Regions from separate parts of the Homo sapiens genome. Here all the other regions are linked to region 4. The links are contacts of gene promoters, found by promoter capture Hi-C in human tissues and cell types (Jung and others, 2019). All regions are on one chromosome and are shown on one strand. Each heading gives the region's core, a stretch centred on a gene start or on the middle of the fragment in contact. The rest is flanking DNA. Distances are from core to core; before and after follow the strand shown.

What was found. Contacts are between HindIII fragments. The study calls those that stand out against the background at their distance.
Region 1: a fragment that was not itself captured here is called in contact with the fragment with the promoter of KIF23 in region 4 in 5 of the 25 tissues and cell types used here (H1 embryonic stem cells, IMR-90 fibroblasts, aorta and 2 more).
Region 2: a contact is called between a fragment that was not itself captured here and the fragment with the promoter of KIF23 in region 4, in 1 of the 25 tissues and cell types used here (mesenchymal stem cells).
Region 3: a fragment that was not itself captured here is called in contact with the fragment with the promoter of KIF23 in region 4 in 4 of the 25 tissues and cell types used here (IMR-90 fibroblasts, adrenal gland, bladder and 1 more).

Annotation. Positions count from the first base shown.
Region 1 is chr15:69,036,798-69,040,954 of GRCh38, reverse strand. SPESP1-NOX5 (SPESP1-NOX5 readthrough) reads right to left here. Exons shown (of 17, transcript NR_033672.2): 9 at 3,745-3,927; 10 at 1,966-2,098. NOX5 (NADPH oxidase 5) reads right to left here. Exons shown (of 16, transcript NM_024505.4): 8 at 3,745-3,927; 9 at 1,966-2,098. Among named protein-coding and RNA genes, the nearest start is that of NOX5, 24 kb to the right of the region's middle. RefSeq lists an enhancer at 3,675-4,157. The HindIII fragment of the contact is 4,814 bases long and covers 52-4,157 here.
Region 2 is chr15:69,089,941-69,094,635 of GRCh38, reverse strand. EWSAT1 (Ewing sarcoma associated transcript 1) reads right to left here. Exons shown (of 4, transcript NR_026949.1): 2 at 3,522-3,721; 3 at 2,269-2,944. Among named protein-coding and RNA genes, the nearest start is that of EWSAT1, 11 kb to the right of the region's middle. RefSeq lists enhancers at 703-1,203, 4,444-4,695. The HindIII fragment of the contact is 7,179 bases long and covers 1-4,695 here.
Region 3 is chr15:69,069,680-69,073,697 of GRCh38, reverse strand. LOC124903515 (a long non-coding RNA gene) reads left to right here. Exons shown (of 2, transcript XR_007064692.1): 1 at 1-2,385; 2 at 3,457-4,018. Among named protein-coding and RNA genes, the nearest start is that of EWSAT1, 9.2 kb to the left of the region's middle. The HindIII fragment of the contact is 5,134 bases long and covers 1-4,018 here.
Region 4 is chr15:69,412,686-69,416,792 of GRCh38, reverse strand. It overlaps KIF23 (kinesin family member 23), which reads right to left and starts at 2,444. Exons shown (of 24, transcript NM_001367805.3): 1 at 2,317-2,444; 2 at 730-799. The coding sequence starts at 2,327. KIF23-AS1 (KIF23 and PAQR5 antisense RNA 1) reads left to right here and starts at 1,764. Exons shown (of 2, transcript NR_132971.1): 1 at 1,764-2,641. RefSeq lists silencers at 2,045-2,124, 2,155-2,274. The HindIII fragment of the contact is 14,046 bases long and covers 1-4,107 here.

The DNA.
Region 1 (4,157 bases), core at 1,209-3,708, 380 kb after region 4:
CCCAGCACTTTGGAAAAGGTGGGTGGATCACCTGAGGTCAGGAGTTCAAGACCAGCCTGGCCAACGTGGTGAAATCCAGACTCTACTAAAAATACAAAAATACAAAAAAATTAGCCATGCATGGTGGCACGTGCCTGTAATCCCAGCTACTCAGGAGGCTAAAGCAGAAGAACCCGGGAGGCGGAGGCTGCAGTGAGCCAAGATCACACCACTGCACTCCAGCTTGGGTGACAGAATGAGACTCTAAAAAAAAAAGAACTGGTGAAATATAACAAGTTTGGAAAGTTAGGGGAGAAAAAGAATTGGTGAAATACATGACACGCCCATATAATATTAATAATAGTCAATAACCATATTAGTATCCACACACTGGAATACCATGCAGCCACAAAAAGGAAAAGCTGTATATTCACTGATATGCAAAGATCTCCATGACATACTGTTCACTAAGAAAAAGTGTGCTGCTATGAAACACTGCCTGTAGTGTGAGCCCATGTATACAAAATCTCTCCATCTGATTAGCCATGTAGATAGATAGATAGAGAGAGAGAGCTGGAAGCCTATTCACCAAATAATTGGCAATGGTTTTCCTTGGATAAAATTATTTGAAGGATTCTCATTTTCTTCTGTACATATTTTGATATTGTCTGAGTTCTCTGAGAGCATAGACGTTCTTTACAAAGTAGAAAAGAAAAGGAAAAAAATAGGGAGAAAATAGCTTCACCCTCTCCAACCTCTAACTTTGTTCCGTGGTACATTGAGGGCACAATTCAGGTGATTCCAAGGTAGGGGGTATGCAGCCCCACATGGGGAAACCCTGGCCTTGGGTCTACATCGTGAGCTGAGGGATCTGGGCCAGGGGTCCTGCTGGGCTGGGTCTGGGAGGCATCCTGAGTGACACTAAAGCTTGTAACCAGGATGAGTCAGAGAACCCCCAGCACCCAGGGCTGGATACCCCTCATGAAGCCAAGCCAGGGTCTTACTGTAATAGGTCACTCAAGGCCTTCCCTGTTGGAAATGTCAGTGCAAGCCACACTTGTCATACTTGGAGGCACCTCTCGTGGTGGGAAGGCCAATCATTGGCCTGGCCAGAAGGGCAGAGGTCCAGGTAGCAGCTCTAAAAACAGCCTGGGACCAGAAGGAAGGCACGTGCACGGGTGAGAGTCAGAGGACAGCTGAGCAAAGCATCAGCTGAACTGTTCTGTGTGTGCTGGGAACCCAAAAAGCAGTGGGAATAGTTCAGGGCTGGAGAAGGGTGTGAGGGATTCTGCTGCCTTGGGGCTCTATAAGGCCCAAGTCCAGGTGGGAGTAGGGAAGCCTGGTCTCCCATCGCAGCCCTCTTAAAAATGCCTATATCCTCTCCTGAGCTGGCTACTCCTCTGCTTAAGAACCATTCCTGGCTCCCAATTGGCTGCTCCATCCATCTGGATTCCAACTTTGCTTCTGAAGTCCTCCTTAGTCCCATCCTAGCTCTAACTGGCTTTGCCAGCCACATCACCTGCCTTTCATGCTCTTTTTCTCTCTCTGTATGTCCCTCCCTTCTTTCCTTGCTACTCCACCTGCCTACCCCCCGCCACCCCCCATAGCTCTAGTTACAGAAGACTCTTCTGAGTTTCCAGGTCCTCATGTTTTTACTTCTGCTTTTCCCTCTGCCTCCTCCCCATCTCCTTCCCTATCTGGTAAACTCCTGCTAACCATTCAAAGTCCAGCTGAATGCCCCTGTGTCTGCAAAGGCTTCTCTCCACCAAGCCAGGCCCTCCCTGTAAGACTTCAGTGCAGCTGGTACAGCCCTTGCCATGCCAATCGGTGTCTGCATGCCTGCTCCCACTTCAAAGAGAGCTTTTTGAGGCTGACTTTGTGTTTCTGGCCTTGTTCAGTGCTGTGTTCCGAGTTTCCAGCCTGTACTTGGCCCACGGTAGGAACTCAGTGAATATGTGCAGAGTGACTGGAGGAGGTGGCCATTACCTTTCTGCTCAGGAGCACTGCTGATGGTGAAGGGGTGCCACTCATAGCGAGCAATGGTGGGGATGTTCAGATACAAGTAGTCACCAGGTCTATAGTGAAAAAAAGGGGGCCGCTTGATGAGGAGATGAGTGACCTGGGAAAGAGGAAGGAGATCTGCATCATTCCTGCAGGCCCAAAGCCACCAGGGGCTACAGGACAAGAGGGCAGAAGCTGGGCTGCCCTCCTCCTCCATAAAACAGGCATGCCCCGAGACATGACACTCTTCTGTGCTTCTGAGTGGTGGCCCACCTCAGCAGCCAACCTGCCAATCTGGAAGTGGGCAACAATCCTAGAGGGGGCAGCCAGGCTGTGTCTGAATTGGGGCCCCTGGTTTTACCCTGCCTCTCAGGGTGTAAGCACTGCTTTTTAGTGGACCCTCTGTGACGTATCCCTGTGATGCCTCCCTGGCTACTCCAGCCCTTTCTTGGAACTTCAGCCAGAGTGTGGCTAGCATTCTAACCATCAATGGGCATCTCTCCTTGGATAACAACATCTTTCCAGACAATTGCTTTGGAGCACTGTGTTATCTCTAGGCCTCACAGCAGTTGTATGACGTGGATATTATTTTCTCTCTACTTTAGGGACAAGAAGAGGAGGCTCAGAGAGGTTAAATAACTTCCCAAGGCCACTGGGTAAGAAACCGTGGGATCTGAATGCAGCTGAGGCTGTTGGATGCCAGAGCCTAGACACAGAGCACAGCCTCATTCTTCAGCCTCCCAGGTCCTCTAACGCAGTGTGTCCAGAGCTGAGCCCGCCTAGAACTGCCTTCCTTTTCTCAGACACCTGGGAGACGTCCTAGACTCCATCCTCTCTGTTGCCGCAAAACATAACCAGTTGCTTCTTGAGTCTTTCTGTGATGTGCACCTGCCTCCATCCCATGGCCACTGCCTCAGTGTCAAGGCCCTCATGAACTCTCATCTTTGTATTTGCAAGAACCTCCCCACAAGCCCCCTCCAAGCTACCTTCCACAGAGCAACTAAAGAAATCTAACTAGAATATTAATGGTCACAGCTTAATACCACCATCTCCTCCCAGCGTGCTCAGGGGTTCCCCATGGCCTGCGGGGTTGGTCTCCCAGCTCAGGAGGCCCTTCATAATCAGGCCTTCCTCACCTCTCTGGCTTCCTCCTGGCAACTTGGCTCCAGCTATGCCAAATTACCTGTGGTCCCCCAAGCACAGTATACCCTTTCACAATTCTGTGTCTTTACTGTGCTGTTCCTCCTGCCAGCAATACCCTTCCTTGTCTTCTCTATCCAACAAACTCTTATTCATCCCTCAAAACCCTGATATGGCATCTTCTCCCTTATTCTGAAGCTTTTTCTGACCTCCCAAAGACAAAGGGTTTAATACCTCCAGCAACACAGCCCTGCACTGTAATGAAAGGGCTGGCTCCCCTAGAAAGCAGGACAGTGCAGAACCTTCTCTATTTCTCTGTAACCTAGTTCAGGGCCTGGCACCCTGTAGGCACTAATAAACGCTTACTGAGCTGAAGGAGACTGTTCTCCCCAAAATCGGATTTTAGAGGTTTATTGCCTGCCCTGCCATTCATCTTCCTAAAGCTTCCCTCCTGGAGGGCTGGACTGGGTCTTGCATTTTGCTTCTCTCCTCCATAGCAATGGGGCTGCAGCTACACTATTCTCTATTTCCTTGGGGGTCTGACAGGGTATCCAGCTGCTCCACCCCACAAACTGTCCCTTGGGGTGAGTTGGAAAAGCACCTCCCCATCCCCCACCTTTGTACCTTGGAGGGGAGGAGGTTGACTTCCATGATGCACACGGCTGCCATGCGGGACACTGCCAGTCCGATGGCCTTCTCCAGGAAAAACAAGATTCCAGGCACCAGCAGCCACTTCCAGAAGTTGGGCCCATGAAAGATGAGCAGAAGCCACACGAGGAGGTAGGACAGGTGAGTCCAATAGAACACCTATGGGGGTAGGGGGGGCAGTCAACTTCCAGAGCTCAAGGCCTGGGGGGTGGAACAGAGCCAGGACTCAGGGTTATCCTCAAAGCCAGGGCAGTGCTCAGAGCCTTGACTCTCTCCCGGGGATGGAGTTGGGTAAGATGTTGGGGCTGGGAAGCTTCTTTTTCTGGGTGCTTGGCCAAAGGAGGCTGTAAGGGAAGATTCCTGATACCAGAGGCAAACATCTGAAATAT
Region 2 (4,695 bases), core at 1,325-3,824, 320 kb after region 4:
TAGATCTGGCCCATGAACCTGCTCCCACAGGCAGGCTTTGATTTGAGGACTGCATTTCCCCAGGCCAGGATCCCAGGGAGAGCAAGAGGTTCTGGAAACACAGAGATGGGCGGGGCTCAGGGAGGGGCTGGGGGACTGCCCTCTCCCACTCAGCAGCTTGCCATAGTTTCATGAGTCCCTCTTCAAATGTGAAACAGCTTCCAATGGGCCTGAGGACTCTGATAGTCCTCAGGGCCATGGATGGAAAGCCCTACCTCCTTTCCTTCCTTCTTTCCTTCCTTCCTTTCTTCCTTCTTTCCTTCCTTCTTTCCCTCCCTCCCTCCCTTCCTTTCTCTCTTCTTCTCTCGCTCCTTCTTCCTTCCTTTTTCCCTCTCTTTCCTTCCCCACCCCTCCCTTCCCTTTTCTCCCCTCCTTCCCCGACCACCATTTCCAGAGGATACCAGGACTTCAAACTGACTCCCACGTGTGTGCTAACTCTGATAGTTAGTGGCTGTGTGATTGTGGGCAATCATGCCTGCTTTATAAGGTAGCTACTCTGACCTCACAGGGTTGGTTGGTTGTTGGGATTTAGTAAATTCAGGCATGGATGTGCACAGCAAATGCCAGCCTGGCTGGAAAAGCTCAGTACATGGCAGCCATCAGAATTGTTGTCACTGTTGTGCAGTGTCAGTGATCAGGAGTGACAAGGCATCTCTTGATCTCAGTCTACTTCTACCAGCAGGTAAACAAAGAGTGTGATGAGAGTTTTATAAAAGGCAGGGTGCTAGGGTGCTTGGAGGGGACTCAGAAGAGCAAGGGCCCAGCCTTCCTGGTAGAAGGGGCAAGATCTGGGAGAGCTTCCTGGAGGAGGTGACTCTCAAGTCTTACAGGATAGCTGGATTTCACCAAATGAGTCCAGGCCAAGGAGAGGCTTTGGCTGAGGTGTGAGAGGCAAACTGCAAAGACCTCTGGTGTGTCCAGGCATTGGATCCTGTGTGGGAAGCCTGTCTGCAGGCTATGATGCAAAGCAGGTCCTATGAGTGCTGGGCACCGCTGGACGAGTTTAACCAGACTAGGAATGCTGGGACTGAGGGATCTGAAAAAAAATCTTTACAGGCCACCAAATCTTCTAAACTCAGGTGGCAGGCTTCCTGTGGTGGTCGCCCAGATCCACTTCAAGGAGGGACATGCTGGGAGAGCTATAGTCAGGCCAGCCCCTTTCAGACGGCCTCAGCTGCAGAGCGCAGCCAGGCCTGAGATCCCTCCTCTTCCTGGGCAGTGCACATTCAGTGACTGACCAATGCTGGGGTATAAAGGTGTGGCCATCACAGCCCAAGTCATGATGACTCTGAGGAACTCATCTAGCTGCAGGACTCCTACAAGGGATTGAGGGATTGGAGAGGCTGTGGCTGGCCTGCACTGAAACCCCACCTCTCCCTCTGCCCCACCTGCTTCCTTCCCTTCCATTCCCTCCCAGAGACTGTCTCTAAATTCCAGTAAACACAGTCGCAGAGTCCCCTACTCACCCCTTTGGGCTGAGCATTGTCTTTCCATACTGCTTTCCCCCTACTGTCCTCTTTTTATTTTTAATTTAATTTCTTTTAAAGACAGGGTCTCCATCTGTCGCCCAGGCTGGAGGCAGCAGTGCGATCACAGCTCACTGCACCCTCTACCTGGGCTCCAGCGATCCTCTCACCTCAGCCTCTGACTAGCTGGGACTAGAGGTGCACACTACTGTACACAGGTAATTTTCTTTAAAAAAATATTTTTATGTTGCCCAGACTAGTCTCAAACTCCTGGGCTCAAGTGATCCTCCTGCCTCAGCCTCCCAAAGTGTTAGGATTACAGGTGTGAGCCACAATGCCCAGCTCTACTTGCCTCCTTTTCAAGTAAACTTCTTTTTTGTTGAAGTATAACATGCATACAGAAAGATGCAAAACTTAACCAATTATGTACAACATAAATCTCTGCAAAGTGAACATAGCCTATAACTGTCACCAGATCAGGAAACAGAATTTTACCAGCACTCCCAGAGTCCCTTTTTGCCCCACTCCTTCTCAAAGGCAACCCCTGTCCTGACTTCTTAACACCACAGACTTAAGGCTTACATGTTTTCAAACTTGAAATTAATGGCGTCAGAGCGTGCTGTCTTACGTATCTGGCTTCTTTCACTCAACATCACCTTCGTGAGATTTGTTCATGTTGTTGCAGGTGACAGTGCTCTATTCATTCTCATTGCTATACACATTTTCATTGTCTAAATTACCCCCACTTTATTTATCTACTCACCACTGATGGGCATTTGGGTGGTTTCCAGTTTATGACTAATACAAACGGCTCTACTATGAACATTCTTGTATCTTGTGTAATTGACTTTTGGTGCCTTTATAAACAAACTTCTGTTAGATATATACCTGGGCTCAGGATTTCCGGAGTAGGCATGAATATATTCAGCTTTAGTGATGCTTCTAAACTGTTCTTCCAAAGGGGCGGTATTAATTTACCCCTTCCGCAGTGCATAGGAGAGTTCCAGTTGTTCTGCATCCCCACCAGCCCTTGATATTGTCAGTCTTTGCACTTTCAGCCATCCTGGTGTAGTTCTAATTTGAATTCCCTGTTGGCTAATGAGATTGAACATATTTTCATATGCTTCTTGGCCATTTGGAGGTGCTCCTTTGTGATGTGGCTCTTCTGAGGTTTTTGCCTATGTATCTAATGAGGTTTTTGCCTTGTTGATTTGGAGGAGTTCTTTATACATGCAAGTGCTTTGTCAGATTCCCATGCTCCCTTTTTGAGATTCAAATATCCCCAGGGTAGGGTGAGGCCTGGCATCACCAATACTTGGGTGGTTCCAAATTACTTTCTCCCTTCTCTGGGCCTGGGAAGCCCTTCCAGAATGGAGGCCTCCTTACTGAGGCTGCATTTCCCTTCCTCTTACCAGTTTTATTCTTTCGGCTGGGAGAAGCTGAAATACAAAAGGGTACACACTAAAAAAAAATCAGGAGCAAAGATCTGGAGTTTTCACAGAGGAGAAAGGAGGCCATGGGAAGAGTTTGACCTCTCCCCTCCACCTGGGCAATCACAAGTGTGAGTATCTCAGTCTGGGCTGTAAGTGAGGAGGTAACTGCAGACAATGCTCTGAGGAGCTCTCAGGCTCAGGATACCTGGCAGGGGACTGGAGGAGGTTGGAAACTCCTCTCTGCTTCCAGAGGGACAGTGCAGAGGAGGTGCCCCAGCCCAGGGGGGATTGGAGGAGGAGATGAGAAGAAAGAAACAGGGGGGTCAGAACGTTTTATGGAAAGATGTGAACCCCTCAGTGGACAGGACTGTCTTCATCTCCAGGTCCCTGGTCCTTAGCATGGTACGTGCCCATGAATGTGCCTACCAGAAAGTAAGGGACACGTGGAACTTTCTGAAGGTAAGCCCTGTGGAAGGAGGGCCTGTGGCTGCTCATCGGTATGGGTTGAATGAATGAAGTTCAAATTATGATGTAAATAATAATAGCTCCATTTCTTGAGCAGCAACTAGGCAAGTGTACTTACTAGCATCACATTTAATCCAACAAGCACTAAATGGAAATTCATATCCAGTTCCATCTGATTCCAGAGCTCACAGGCTTTTTCCCTAAGCTGCACACCTTCTCATGACAGGAACCACAAAGAGTTTACCAAGGTGTTCTCTAGGCAGGAAGTCCACTCTTCTCCCTTCCAGGTGAGGAATCGCAGGCCCAAGAAGAGGGGCTCTGAGAAAAGGAGGCGGAGAAAGGTGAAATTACAGATGCTCCTCTTATCCTGCCCATCACCTCCTTCAAACTGTTTCACTTCCCTTCCTCCCCTCCCTCCCTCCCTCTCTCCTTCCCTTCCCCTCACTTCCCCTCCCCTTCTCTCCCTTCCCTTCCTTTCCCTTCCCTTCCCTTCTTCCTTCCTTCCTTTCTTCCCTCCCTCGCTCCCTCCTCCACAAACATTTCTTGAGCACCTACTGTGTGCTGGACTCTGTACTAAGGCCACAGTGACCAGAACAGACACAAAACCCTGTCTTTATACAGTTTACACTCAGTGGTGAATGCAGAAGACAGTCATTAATCAAATGAAGATGTCATTACACATGGGATGGGGAAACCTGGAGGCAATTGCATGCAGTTTGCTCTTCCAGCTGCAGACACTCCCCTCCCCAGTGTGGGAGAGAGCCCAGCCTCTGTGAGTTCTGTTCTCAGAGGATTTTGTGTTGCTGGGTGAGCCACATCATCCAGCCAAGCCGCTGGCTGCACAGGCTGCTGTTGCCAAGCACCCCAGAACACACCTCCTCCCCTTCCTGGCTTTTGTTTTGTAAAAACACGTTTTCAGGGGAATTATGCTGAATTGTCTGAGAGAGGGAGGGCTTGGAGCAGGTGAGAGGGAAGTAGCTGAAGAAGGGATTTGGGGAGCTTCTCCTCACCAGAAAAAGGGGCAGACAGGCAATAGGGATGGGCGGCGGTGGGGAGACCTTAGAGGGAAGTGGGCAGTGAGGACCCTAGGGTGGTCACGCCTACTTGGCACACAAGGTTCCCAACCTCAACAAAGGTGCAAATAATCCCCCCTATAAACACACACACACACACACACACACACAAACACACACACACTCTCAGGTAAGCCTGGCAGGGACATGGCAGAGCCTCCAGTCTTCAGGGACTAGGAAATCCTGGACAACAGCCATTATCTATGGTGTCCAGGGCAG
Region 3 (4,018 bases), core at 1,088-3,587, 340 kb after region 4:
TTCCACTTTCCTCCACCCTGGTAAAACCACTGCCTGCCATTTGGTATGCGACATTCACTCCTATTCCACGCATTTACAAGTATGTGAAAGTACACATTCGGATATACACAAATATAACATTATTGCATATATGCACATATGTACATGCACACATAACTTTTTTGCAGTTTTATGTCATGGAGACCATACAGTAAGTGTTCTTCAGATTGTCATTTTCATGTACTAATATGTCTTAAGGAGCTGTCAATGACAGAACATACAGGTCTTTTACGCCATAGCTCTCTTTCTAATAGCTGCAAATTCCAAACTGTGGATTTCTCATGGATTATTTAACCTCCCATTATTTACATTTCTGGTGTTTCTTTTTTTAAATTTTTTATTTTCTTTCTCTTTTTTGTCATTACAAACAGGAAGCAATGATTATTGTATTAGTTATTTACTGCTGCCTAACACAATACTCCAAAAAGTAGTGGCTTAAAAGTATAATAAATATTTATAATCACTCACATTTTTTGCCAGTCAGGAATTCACAGCTTCTTGGGTGGGTGGTTTCTGGCTCAGTGTTTTGCATGGGCTTGCAGTCAAGATGTTGACTGAGGCGTCAGTCAAATGAGGCTTGACTAGGCCTGCAGGATCTATTTGCTCTCAGAGCTGGCAAGTGGATGTGGGCTGTTGGTGGCAGCCCTTAGTTTCTCACCCATGTGGGTCTCTCCACAAGGCTAATTGAGTGTCCTCACAACATGGTGGCTGTTTCCATCATAGCCAGTCATTCGAGAGAGCAAAGTAGAAGCATAGGGCCTTTTATGACCTAGCCTCCGAAGTCACACATTGTCACTTTGGCCACATTCTATTCATTAGGAGTAAGTCATTAAGTGTAGCCCTTTTGTGAAGGGAAGGGTATCAAAGAATTTGTGAACATATTTTAAAACCACTAGTATTACCCTTATACATAATCTTTGTGTAGTTGTGTGACTATTTCCTTAGAATACATTTCTAGAACTGGAATTGCTGGGTCTAGCAATATATGCACTTTTAACTTTGATAATTCCTCCTGTTTGTATTAGAAACTGTTCACTGTCCCCCTACTATCCATTTTCTCTTTTCTTCCTTTTAGCAATGAATCTCCTGAGTTTCAGGTGGGTATGAGTTGAGAATATATTTTCCACCCCCCTTGCTACTACATGGGGACGTGTAACTAAGTTATGACTGATGAGAAGCATTGTGTGCAATTTCTGAATCAGGTCCTTAAAATACGCTGTTTGTTGTACTTCTGCTTTCCCCAGGGAGAAATCTATTCAGAGAACAGATGTGGTAGTGGGAGTCAGCTTCCAGCAGGTGATGCAGGTAACACCCCTGGGGATGGTGGTACAATGTACAGAAAGAACCTGTGTCCTTGTATAACCTTGTGGAGCCGAGCCAGCCTTCTTTCCAGGACTTTCTACTAGCTTAGACTTTTGTATGAGAAAAAAATAAAATAAAGCTTTTATCTTGTTTCAGCCACTGTTACTTACTGATGATTTGCCTCCTCGAAAGCCTCCCCAACAATGTATGAGTATCCATTTCCTCCATCCTTGCCCACACTAGATATTATCAATCTTCAAAAAGCTATCAATCTGATGCCCCCCTAACTTATGACTTCATAATCTCCTTCACGTGCTATTGCTAGGGGCAGGGTGAAGGATATTGATATAAAATTCAAGAAAAAAACCTACCACAATCATATTAATAGAAAACACAAAGATATAATCTTGCTTTTGAGAAAGAAACTGCAATTTCAAAAGGACTCATACATCCCCCCATAGACTCTGCATGGATGCTGTGCCTTCCCTCAAAGGCATTACAGACTAACTGGGAAAAGGTATCTGGACATAGAAAACTAGCAGTACAGAGTGGAACAGTCTGGCTGGCTAATTCCTGGTACTGACCCAGGGAGATTGAGAAGGGAGCTGTGATGGAGGACATTTAGCCTCCCAAAGTCAGTGGTTCATGAATTTCGTATGCTATTCGGGTGAGAAGCAGGGAGAACGGAGTGGACTATCTGGGAGAAAGTTGTGGCAAATGCTAAGGGTACAGGCTCTGGAGTTAGACTGTCTACATTCATGTCCCATCCCTGCCACTTCACTCTGTTGGCACATACTTACTGAGTGCCTTCTGCAAGCAAGATACTATTGGTGAGGCTGGGCATTCCACGAGAAACTCTGCTGTAACTGGATCTTCCTTTCAGAGTGCTGAGACAGATGACGACAGGCTGGGCTTCAGTTCCCTCACCTGGAGAGTGATGAGAACACCAGCGCAAAATTCCAGGGCCATTGGGAAGATGGAATGAAATAGTACATGTAATGGCTCGCATCCATAGTGCCTGGAACATAACAAATGCTCGTAAAGGTAGGTGTTATCATTAAGAAAAGCCATGAAGGAGAAAGTCCCTAGAGCCCCCAAGGTTCCTTTCTGTGCCTTCACTGGTGACTCCCATAAACTTTGTTTTAATGCCCCCGATATAGTGTGGATATTTCTCCCCTCCAAATCTCATGTTGAAGTGTGATCCCAGTGTTGGAGGCGGGGGCTGGTGAGAAGTGTTAGGTCACGGGAGTGGGTCCCTCATAAATGGCTTGGTGCCCTCCCTGTGGTAATGAGTGAGTTTTTGCTCTATTAGTTAGAGTGAGATCTGATTGTATAAAAGAGCCTGGCACCTCTTCCTCCCTCTCTTGCTCCCTCTCCTGCCATGTGACCTGCCTACTCCCCCTTTGCCTTCTGCCATGAGTAAAAGCTTCCTGAGGCCTCACCAGAAGCCGAGCAGATGCCAGTGTCATGCTATCCAGCCTGCAGAACCATGAGCCAAATAAACCTCTTTTCTTTATAAACTACCCAGTCTCAGGTATTCCTTTATAGCAATGCAAAATGGACTAATACAACCCCCCCATAGAAAAACTCCTGCTTTCATAAAAGATATCAGTTCTTTCTCACTGAGGTGAAAATGATTGATGTAGTTTGATGCACTACTTCTGTTGCATTTACACTTTAGTGGAGAACATACTGTGTTTGGTTAAATCACAGGGACGAAAGTCTAATTATGAAATTTCAGGCATCAGCAAAGCTAAACCACAGGCATTTGGGCCAATTGAGGGTGCTTCACTGATGCTGCTGAAATAAACATTTTTAGGGAGCTGGCCCAGTCTTCTCTTCCCTTCCCTTCCCTTCCCTCTCTTCCAGTCCCTTCTTATCTCTCCTCTTCTGTCTCTGCTCCCCTGCCTCCCTTTTCTTTCTCTCCCTCCTCTTCCTCCTCTCCTCTGTCTCCTCTCTGTCTTTCCCTTGCTTAAATGGCTATCTAAGTCCCTGATGATTCAATGTGATTACGTTTCCATAGGCAGGTGTGTGTCTTGTTTAGTCACATTAAAAATAAATCACTTGGCCACACGCAGTCGATGCATCAATCTGTTACTTTCCTCTGCTTTCCAGGAACAGATTGCTCAAAAATCAGACGACTGTTGGGTGAAATGCGAGTGGGGAAAGGAGTGAGATGAAGGGAACAGAGCCCTTCCAAACTCGCCCTTCAGCCTTCCTACCCAATCAGAAAGGAAATCAGTCATGCCCACAATCCTGCCAATAACACAGTGTAGCGGCTGCATTCTTTGGACCAATGACAGTGAGCTGTAGAAGAAATCTCATTTGGAGAAGAGATGGGGGCTTGTGTTTACTGAACATCTACTACGAATCAGGCCCTGTGCTTTTTTTTGCATCTGTTCTCTTCTAAAGGGGAATCAGGATCCTGGCTGAGGGACCCTGGACTATTTCACCTTTCAGGATCTCAGTTTCTTTAGACCAAAAACACTAACTCTTATTTTTTTGTTGCACTTTTTTAAAAAAAATTAAACTTTAAGTTCTGGGGTACATGTGCAGAATGTGCAGGTTTGTTACATAGGTATACAAGTGCCATGGTGGTTTGCTGCACCCATCAACCCATCATCTACACTAGATATTTCAACTGATGCTATCCCTCCCCTAGCCCCCCAACCCCAAG
Region 4 (4,107 bases), core at 1,195-3,694:
AGTAGAGACAGGGTTTCGCCATGTTGGCCAGGCTGGTCTCGAACTCCTGACCTCAGGTGATCCACCCGCCTCAGCCTCCCAAAGTGCTGGGATTACAGATGTGAGCCACCGCACCCAGCCTACAGAGACATTTTTGAAAGCAGGGGAGGGGGCTTGAGGAAAACTCATTCAGCTGTGTGCAAAGCACCCGGTTCCCTTAACTCAGAGCCAGGGACCCACTCCAGTGGCAACGAGGGATAGATTTAAAATACCTCAGAGCAAAGAACCCTTTTTGTTTGCCATTTGTTGTTTTGTTTTAAAATTCTTATTCTTTTTGCCTGCTTCATTTTTTCTTCATAATTTAACTGAATTAAACTTGGTCCCAAGAAGTTTGGAACTCTCCTCATGCCATCAGTTACTGTATGGCATGAACTCAGTTCATATTCTCTGGGATGAATATGAACCCAGTTGGAGATTTTTAATTATCTAACTCTCCAAATTATAATTACAGAAGGTATGCAGTTGACAACCAAAGACTTCATTTTACTGGACTAATTTAATTAATCTTATAGAGAAAATTTCACAGCTAGCACTAGTTTTACACAATGTAGTACATCCATTTAACTAAATGTTCTTTGATTATACTTCCACATGTCTTCTTCTTTCCCTTCCAAGCATACACATAAGACAGAAAGGACTGAAGAGATAAGTTTCTTAAACACCACACATAAATTTACAGGGATACCTTACCCCAACTGGGTCTTTAAGGTTCGTTTGGGACCCTTTTTTCACGGTAGGTTTCCGGGGTGTCTTAGCTCTCCTGGTCATAGATTAAAAAATAATAATAACTTTTTTTTCAGTTCAACACGAATACAAAAGCCTCACCTAAAACTTATACAATCTTTCTAGGTTATCTGTAAATTATCCCTTAGCAGTTGCAAAACACTGCATCCCAAATAACATTAATAATCATAGTAGCAGAGTGTTTGTGGCATGCGTAATCCAAAAGTAATTAAAATTTGCTTTAGAATACATTTTTGGTACCAAAGCTACCTACTTATTCTCTGATTAGTTCTATACTTAAAATGGCTTGCATATTTTCTTGAGCAACAATTTAACAGAGGCACTACAAATTATAACTGCCCACACTTTACAGACTGACAAGCGATTAACTTCAATACACTATAAAAATGCACATGGAGGAAACCATTCTTTCGTCAAGGGTTACGCCTGTACTTTCAAGGAACAACCAGTCATTGAATGCTCAAAACATTACTCTTTGTCTCCAAACAAAATCTGGTCCCAAACTGCCAATTTCTTGGTTTCTTAAGTAGGGGCAATCAAAAAGTTATTTTGATTGATTTCACCATTTCTCTAGCATCTCATCTTTTTCCCTTCACATTTATCTATAGGCTAGATATACATTTAACACATTAAAATTAAGTAAGATTATTGGCTTCGACTGTAGTTTAAAAATATTTTTCCAAACATATTCTCAGATGAAACACAAGCAAATTCGTGTTATTCAGTGCAAAATACTTTGTGGTGGGCTTAAGTTAAACTCAACGTATATTTCTTATATATAATTTTTTTCATCTAAAGATTTTGACTTCGGCCTCTTAATAAACAAGTTGTCTTTTGCAAACGACTCCCTAAATGGTAATAAAGCCAATCCTCTCCTTTGCACGACAAATATTTCTTTACCCAGGAATGATGCTGCGCCGAAAATATTAGCTTAGGAATGTGGGCGGAGGTTCTCTGCGGCCACAAAATACAGCAGAAGTAACTGGCCTGTGTAAGCGGATGGGCTCGGCCTCAAGGACAGGGTGCTCGGCTGAAAAAAAAGCTAGCGGCGATCACCGGTGCCAGGGCTCTCCAGAAACGGAGCCCATCTAACCAATGCCCAGCACACTCGCTCTGCTCCACACACGAGACCACCTCCGACCCGCACTAAGTTGGCCAACTGCACTCTGGAGGCGGCGGCAGCCAGCGAGGGAGAAGGGAAAGGCTGTCCCGGGACCCCGAGGAGGACTGCCCCGCCCCCGGGAACCGGGTGCGGCGTAAAACAACCCCGGCTCCGGGCCGACCCTTCCTGGCCCCTTGGAGGCCCAGGCGGGGCGGCGGGGGGCGACGCGGCAGGGGTCTCCGCGCCCAGGCTCCCGCGGAGCGGCCACACGTGGAGGTTCCCACTTTGGGGTCGCGGCCGCAGCAGCACCGGGCGGGATGCTGTCCGCGCTGCCCGCGTACGGCCGCGGCCTGAGTGGAGACGCCTGCCCCCAGCCCCGAGGCCTCGGCCCCCGTCCGCCCTCTCTCCCTGCTCGGCGGCCTCGTACTCACGCTGACTTCATGGCAGCAGGCTCCACGCCGCCCAAACGCGCATGCGGGACGGCTGGCTGGCGAAGACTGCGGGACGTTAGGACCGGCAGCAAGAACTAGAACTTCGCGGCTAAGGCGCGGTGCTCTGCGAAGCCGGCGGCGACGCTAAGAGCCCAGGTGAGCTCCCGCCTGGCGCATTTCAAACGGGCCAATCAGCGCCCGTCCGCAGGGAGAGGCAGGACCTCCGCGGAAGTGACTTCGCTGCCGGAAGTGGCGCTTGTCTCCTAGGCGACCGACGCTGAAAGGGCCGCGGAGTCGCGTGTCAGGGCTGGAGGGAGATCTTGAGGTATGGTATTTAAACTCTTCCGCCTTGCGATGACGAAACTGAGGGTTTCTTTTCCTCCATCACAAGAAGTTCAATGGAAGGGCCTTTCCAGGGTTGATTCAGAGGTCGGAATGTCGTTCTGGTGAAAAGTGTTGTATTCCTGTGCTGTGCCCTGCTCCAAGTCTCAGGCTCCGTCTCTCTGGCTCCCAAGTCACCACATTATCTTGGCGTCTTTTCTCTCTCTGATTCACCTTTCCTGGGTTTCCCTCCAGCTCTGTCCTATATGTACATTATTTTATCAAATCTTTTTTTTTTCCTTTTTTATTTTTTGAGGTGGAGTTGCTCTGTCGCCCAGCCTGGACTGCAGTCTTCAGCTCACTGCAACCTCCACCTCCTAGGTTCAAGCAATTCTCTTGCCTCAGCCTCCCGAGTAGCTGGGATTACAGGCGCGCACCACCACGCCCAGCTAATTTTTGTATTTTTAGTAGAGATGAGGTTTCACCATATTGGCCAGGGTGGTCTAGAACTCCTGACTTAAGGTGATCTGCCTACCTTGGCCTCCCAAAGTGCTGGGATTACAGGCGTGAGCCACTGCGCCCGGCCTGTTTTATCAAATCTTGATTGTGTTTGATCCTGGCCTTACGGAGATGAATAAAATTTGGTCCTTACCCTTAAGGGGCAACCTTTTGAACCTACTCTTGCCTTAGATGAACTGATTCTATATCACTTCTGTCTTTGACCCTAAGCCGATGACTACCAAATACACATCTACACCTGGGCTCTCATGGAACTCTAGCCCCTTCTCAACTTCCTAAAGGACCACAGCACTGGTAAGGATAGTCACAATGTCCTTGGCCAATATTGTTGGTGCTCAGGAAACGACACCCCAGAGTATGGCTCTTTGGCACACTGAGTGCTTTGAACTAAAGAAGACTGAAAGTGCCTCAGAGAAGCCTTAAAAGCAAAGTCTGTCTCTGACTTTCTCCTGCCCTCTTGTCTCCCACCCCTCTGTGTCTCCTAAAGCAAATAATAGAAACCAGAATTTCTGTTCCCCAAGGCGGGTCATGGAAACTAGAACCCCTTTTCTCCCAAGCAAGCCAGAAACATTATTCTAGAAAAACCTAGAAATATTAATCTAGCCTTCCCCCACCTTTTTGTGTAAGAGCTGGCCATAAAGACATTCTTTGATGTACCTTGTCATAAGACCCTCGTTCCAAAAGGGTCTTGCCCTACACTCAGGAAGAAGGAAAGCTGCACAGAGAGGCCAAGAAGAATCTGAACAGACAGGACTTGCTGGATTCCTCCTTCAGTCTGTTACTATTAGATCATACTCCTTTTGTACAATCACATTTCTACACAGCTGTCCATTCTTCATCTCATCTAAGCATAAAAATGGACAGCTTTCCCTGGGTCTTTGGGTCTTCATTTCTGAAGGCACTTACATCCCATAAAACTGTGATTCAATAAGTTATCCATTTATCTTGCTA